Linked DNA regions of Homo sapiens: region 2 is linked to region 1. The links are contacts of gene promoters, found by promoter capture Hi-C in blood cells and fetal thymus (Javierre and others, 2016). All regions are on one chromosome and are shown on one strand. The core of a region is centred on a gene start or on the middle of the fragment in contact, and the rest is flanking DNA. Distances in the headings are between cores, read along the strand shown. Region 1 holds the start of LINC01948 (long intergenic non-protein coding RNA 1948). Region 2 overlaps IL6ST (interleukin 6 cytokine family signal transducer).

Region 1 (2,964 bases), core at 230-2,729:
TCAGAACCTCCCTCATTTGACCTGTTTTAACTCGTGTTCCCTCGACCTTCAAATTTTCAGTGTCCACAAAGCAGATCAAGGCTATCACAAAACAAAACAAACACCAAAAAGCCAACCCACTGGATCTAGAGACCTACGGACTTGCCCTCCTGATACTTGCAGCTGGTGTTTAAGGACGTGCCTGCCTTGGGCGATGGGCGGGTAGAAACCTCACACACCAAAGCCCATCGAGCTAAACTCAAGGTTGCGAACCCCAACCCCGGTGGGAACACGGTCTGCAGACACGCTCCCTTAAGTCCCTGTCGCACACAATAAATTGCTTTCTGAATATTCCCTTTACAACTGCAAAAAATAGAAATGGCTGTAACTGTGCAGAGAAAGAAAAGAGAAGCTGGGATGAGCTCCATCAGGGGCCGAATCTGCTTCTCGCTGGTGGATACTGTGATAAGAAACCTAGATCTGAACGGCCTCACAATGGCCTATTTATCCGGCTCTTACGCACGGCCGGCAGCCCCGGCTGGGAATCACGGGGGTGGCAGCCGTCCCCGGAAAACGGCGGCATTCCGACACAGGAAAGCCCGCGGATCAACTGATCTGCAGACAACGCTTCTTCCTTCCTGGGAAGCGGCCACAAAGGCAGCCAGCTGACCCCGGCCCAGCGCGGCTCCCGGCCGAGGAGGACAGGGGCGGGGTGGGGAGGGGGGGAATCGTCGCCCGCCCCGCCCCCACCCCCCAAGTTTCCTTTGGCAAAAGCATCCCAGGCGTGGTTCAGGCAGAGTCCACGCCAGCGAGGCTGGGGCCGAAACTCTCCACGCCAGGAAGGCGGGGTAGGCGGACCCGCCGCCCCCAGCCCCGCGCGCCCGCCGCGCCCCCCACGGCCCCCACCAGCTGGCTCTTCCGGCCGGGGCGGCCTTGGCCTGGGGCTGGGGTTGACTTTGGTGGGGGGACAGGAAGGACTGGCACAGCGCCCGCGACTGTCCCCTGAGGAGGACCCTCCCTACGACTTTTGGTCAAAAGCAAAAAGAAACACAGACATGTGCGTCACCCCGGGAAGCGCGCGGGGGTTTCGCTCGCGTTTCAGGAGCCGACTTCGCATCCTCCCTCGGTAGGGGGGTCGGGGGTTCCTAAAATTTACCCCCCAACTTCACTTCTCTGGCGACAGAGCACCTTAACAGTTCATTTCCCTCTCGCTCTCAAGTGAAAACATCTTATTTTTGTGTTAAAATGTATAAAGACACCATGAGAATTGGCAGGAGGTCAAACCGTAGATTCTGAGATGCTCCGGTCGCTCCCCAGGAAGCGCTGTTTTCGGAAGTGTTGACCCAGCAGCTGGTCCCTGCTGCTCTAATGACACGATGTGTGCTTTCACTTTTTCACTCCCAAAACGACGTGGTTTGGAGTCTTGAGAGCCTTGGAAATCGCTGCCCGTGGAGGGAAAGGTCTGGAGAGGCCAGGCCAGGAGAGCAGACATGCTGCAAGAAGCGGAGGCAGCCCTGTGAACTCGCCTGGCTCCGCAGGGAGGGGCGAGGCTGTCCAGGTCGCAGGTGGAGCTGGCCAGCTGCGAGCCAGGATGTCCTTGCTCTTTCCAAATTATACACAGTTTCCACAAGGAAAAAAGAGAGGGGTAGGGGGTCCAGGCAGATCTTCAGCTGTTTGTATACTCTGCACCAGGAGGCGCTATCATCAGCCCGGACCCCTACTCCACAGGACTGAGGAGACCACAATTCTTCCCTCCAGGCAGAATCGTGGACCCAATATTCCCGTCTCCCCGAATTCTCTTAACTCAGTATACTGCCATTAACAGCATAGTCAGCCTTCTGGACTTGAACTCCAGAAGGAATTTTGTCTCATTTAGTGCCTGCAGGGGAGCAGGATGAGATAGTACCTCTTGTACCGGCACAAGGTCTCTGAGTTGACTCTTACATAAACATTGCGCTGTTTCTAGGGACGGCATCATTTCTTGACCTAGAGAAACAAAGATATTGTGGGAAGGACCCCTGATGCTCAGTGGCAGTTTGGAGACCTGGCATTAGCCTTACTCAGTAAGGCTTCCTGATCTAGCAGGACTGATCCAGTCAGCTTTGATGATCCCCTAGCCTGGTACTGGGATTCTTCCAAACACCCATGAGATCACCCACATCTCACAGGGGCTGGTAGTGTTCCAGCAGAGAAAGGTGAGGGTAGCAAGCAGTAGTCACTTTGGGCCTGAAATGAACATCTTGGGGTTTTTATATCTGCCCACCCACTATGGGACATTATTGTCCCTTCCTCTTTGCTACAGTGTTTCCAGAAAATGAGAAGTAGCATCTTCTTAGAAATAGATTGGGTACCCTGTCTTAGACCTAGTTCCTTTTTTTTTGTTTTTTTGAGACGCTGTCTCACTCTGTCTCCCAGGCTGGAGTACAGTGGTGCGATCTGGGCTCACTGCAACCTCCGCCTTGGGGGTTCAAGTAATTCTCCTGCCTCAGCCTCCTGAGTAGCTGGGAATCCAGGTGTGTGCCACCACACTCGGCTAATTTTTGTATTTTTAATAGAGACAGGGTTTCACCATATTGGCCAGGCTACCCTTGAACTCCTGACCTCAAGTGATTCGCCTGCCCCAGCCTCCCAAAGAGCTGGGCAGTTACTTTTATTATAGTTCTAGATAACATAGAAAAGAACATGGAAAGCAGCTATGCAAGCAAAACACAAACACAAACAACCCTGTTAAAAAGTGGGCAAAAGACATGAACAGACACTTCTCAAAAGAAGACATGCAAGCAGCCAACAAATGTGAAAAGATGCTCAGCATTGCTGATTATCAGAGAAATGCAAATCAAAACCACGATGAGATCTCACACCACTCAGAATGACTATTATTAAAAAGTCAAAAAAACAACAGATGCTGGCAAGGCTGTGGAGAAAAGGGAACACATATACATTGCTGGCATTGCTGGTGGGAATGTAAATTAATTCAGCCACTGG
Region 2 (2,964 bases), core at 317-2,816, 550 kb before region 1:
TTGGACCTGTTACTAAGTGAAGATTGTTCTAGGAAAGTAGGCCTGGACTGAGGTATTAGATTTCTAATCAACAGGCTGGTCTCATTCAGAGTTTGAACCAGCACTCTGGGGGAGAAACCACTTGTGGCCGTTGAATTACTCTGGCTAGCCTGTCTCAGAAAGACCATCCACAGCCAGGGCTAATGAGACAGTTGAAGAAAGAGAAATACTTTACCTGAGGGTTTTGGTTTTTTTTTGGCTTTTATTTTTGTGTGTGTGGATTACCACCATATAGCTCACCATGTTATCCCAGAAAGACTACAATTTCATACAGAATGCACAGATGTTTAAATAAAAAGCCATTTAAGTGAGGGGATAATTCTCACTAAAAAAAGCTCAAAAATAAGAAATGACAATTCTAGATACACTTTTTTGACATGTAAAATGACATAACCATAGTCACAGGGAATAAAGAATCAGGTTTGAATGTCCACAGGTTTCTAAAACTAAGCTCTGGCTTCGTATCTGTTGAAAATCTTTAGCGGTTGGGGAAAATAGCTATATTTAAAAACAAATATTGAATTTTGAGTTGAAAGGTACATTTTCCTCCCTTGATGGAGACAGAACTTTTCTATGGAGAACCCAAGCAGCCTTTCCATGATCTTACTAAGTTGTCCAAGAGCCAACCCCGATCAGCAGCAACAGGACTCAAGCTGTTCACCCTGCTTTCGAGTTGGCTGAGCTTCCTGCTGCTTTCACACATTCTTCTTTTTCTACCTCAGTTCCTCTTTGCTTGTAGTCTTTCACTCCATTAACTTGCCCAAGCACTGGACTTAAGTATGGAAGAGCCTATACGCAGTTGTAATATATTTCGTATTTTGAAAGTGTAGAAGTTTGTATTAATTTAAAAAGAAAAAGCTTAAATGGAAAGTTAAGCAATCCTGAACAAGAAAACTCTCTCACTGCCTTTGGGCTAGAGAAAGAGTATGCTCTCAAGGAGTTACATAATCTTTTCCAAAGCAGGATGGACTGTATCTATCATACACATTAGGATAAGATGAGCCACCACACCTTAAAGAAATCAGGCTTGAGCCTATACAAGCCATAACCAAATAGAAGATTTTAAACAAAGGAGCACATAGCCCAAAGCTGACATGTTATTTCTATAAACTCTGGTATATATGTGAAGGAGTTACTGTTGGCTGGCTTGTGGGTTTTTTGACTCACTACATTTTTTTAGACAAAATCACAATGTGAAGGCACATTAATAGTTGAGATTTTCTTTTCCTTCCAGGTGGACTTGCTGACTGATTAGTTTCATATACTACTTAGTAACCTCAAGAAGTAGCAGGAGGATGCCATGTATCAATCTTGAACTTCAAGTCTCACTGCAACAAGGATGGAGACTCCAGCAGAGTGCAGGGTGGGCACAGACAGGCCACAAGATGGCGCAGCACCTCCATACTTGGGCTCTTGACAACCAAGTAGGTTTTTTTTTTTTTTTTTTTTTTTAATGTCCACTAGGAGGGAGGATGCTACGATTTCAGACCTCAGCTATTAAATAGTAAATCTGGAAAACTAGTGGATAAATTTGCCATCTCCATTCTATGTTATTAAGACCAAGATAGTGTACTGGTTTTCTTTTAAATCACATTCCATTATGTCATTTAAAATGTCACAAAACCCACACGAAGCATCTCATTTACACTAAGATGCTTATTTAGCTAACACCACTAATGATAAATGCTGTTACAAATATGCATAGTCAGATGATAGTAACCACATACAGAAAAAAAATTTGAACAAGTATTTATTTCTTAAAATTTACTTAAGGGATTAGAGCTAATATATAATAGAACATTTAATATAACATTTGGAGTTATGTCAACATAAAAATAGCTGTGGTTACAATTAGCACATGCAATTCACTGCAAAGGTAAAAATACATGCTATACTCTAGACAAGCCTTCCAAATGAAGTTAGAGTAGATGGGGTAAAACAGCAAGTGAACATGAAAGGATTGCACTTAGAAGAAAGTGGGACATAGCTAGGATATAAAAGAAACATACCTAATGCTAGTCAGTCACTGCATTGTCCTACTAGCAAATTGCACATTTATTTTTAGAGTATATTCAATACACATACATATTGAGACTAGAGAATTTTCAAATATCTACCTTTGAAATATCCCTTTGTTTCTAACACATCACATTATGGTATTAATGTAACAGCACTTAAAACCTGTAGTTATCATTCAAAGCTTGTGTTCAAGAGATAAAAGAACATCATTCAGACAAAGCCTGTGTTCAAGAAATAAAAAAAACATCTATCACTATCGGCCTTAAATGCATCTCATCACACGACCCATCAACTTTAATGAAATGGGTAATGAAGTTAAACTAACCAGTTTGTACAAACTATTGACTGAGAAAAAGCCCTTAAAAATTTAGGAACAAATGAGCAACAGAAGAGCTCACCCTGAGCTGCCACCTTTTAATTTTTAATGCAATGTATATGAGAATATCATGCTAATGCACATACTAGTAGCATGTATGATGGAAAAAAATAGGTTAATGCAAAAGATAATACGCTTGGCTTTGTAAAGTTTTGTTTTGACTTACATCATCTGAATTCTGTTTATCGAGTCTGAAAAGGAACTGCTGCCAAGGACCAGTCCAAAGAAGAATTAGGCTGTAAGACTGCTAGTTCATACCTTCTTTGAAATCAATGACAATGTCCAATTTTAGGCTAATCCTAAAACACTTGCCATTTTATGACTCCATATTCTTTTAATTTACAGAAAAGTACAAATTTTTTAGAAAGTAATCTTATCAGCACAATATAATCTAACAATACCTGTAATAGAAAGCTATCCCAGTAAATTTTTTTTGAACAATTGAACTTTTGTCTTATGCAGCTTATAACTTTGTTATTTTATTCATCTCAACAAAATAAAACTTTATTGAAACAAAAGTGTATGGTTTA

What was found. The method cuts DNA at HindIII sites, captures the fragments that hold promoters and counts their contacts. A CHiCAGO score of 5 or more calls a contact.
Region 2: a fragment that was not itself captured here is called in contact with the fragment with the promoter of LINC01948 in region 1 in 2 of 17 cell types (naive B cells and total B cells); the score reaches 6.8 in naive B cells.

The regions. Positions count from the first base shown.
Region 1 is chr5:56,480,290-56,483,253 of GRCh38, forward strand. LINC01948 (long intergenic non-protein coding RNA 1948) reads right to left here and starts at 1,480. Exons shown (of 5, transcript NR_104664.1): 1 at 1,264-1,480. RefSeq lists enhancers at 1-48, 1,249-1,408. The HindIII fragment of the contact is 6,332 bases long and covers 1-2,964 here.
Region 2 is chr5:55,934,874-55,937,837 of GRCh38, forward strand. It overlaps IL6ST (interleukin 6 cytokine family signal transducer), which reads right to left. Exons shown (of 17, transcript NM_002184.4): 17 at 222-2,964. Among named protein-coding and RNA genes, the nearest start is that of IL6ST, 59 kb to the right of the region's middle. The HindIII fragment of the contact is 1,342 bases long and covers 896-2,237 here.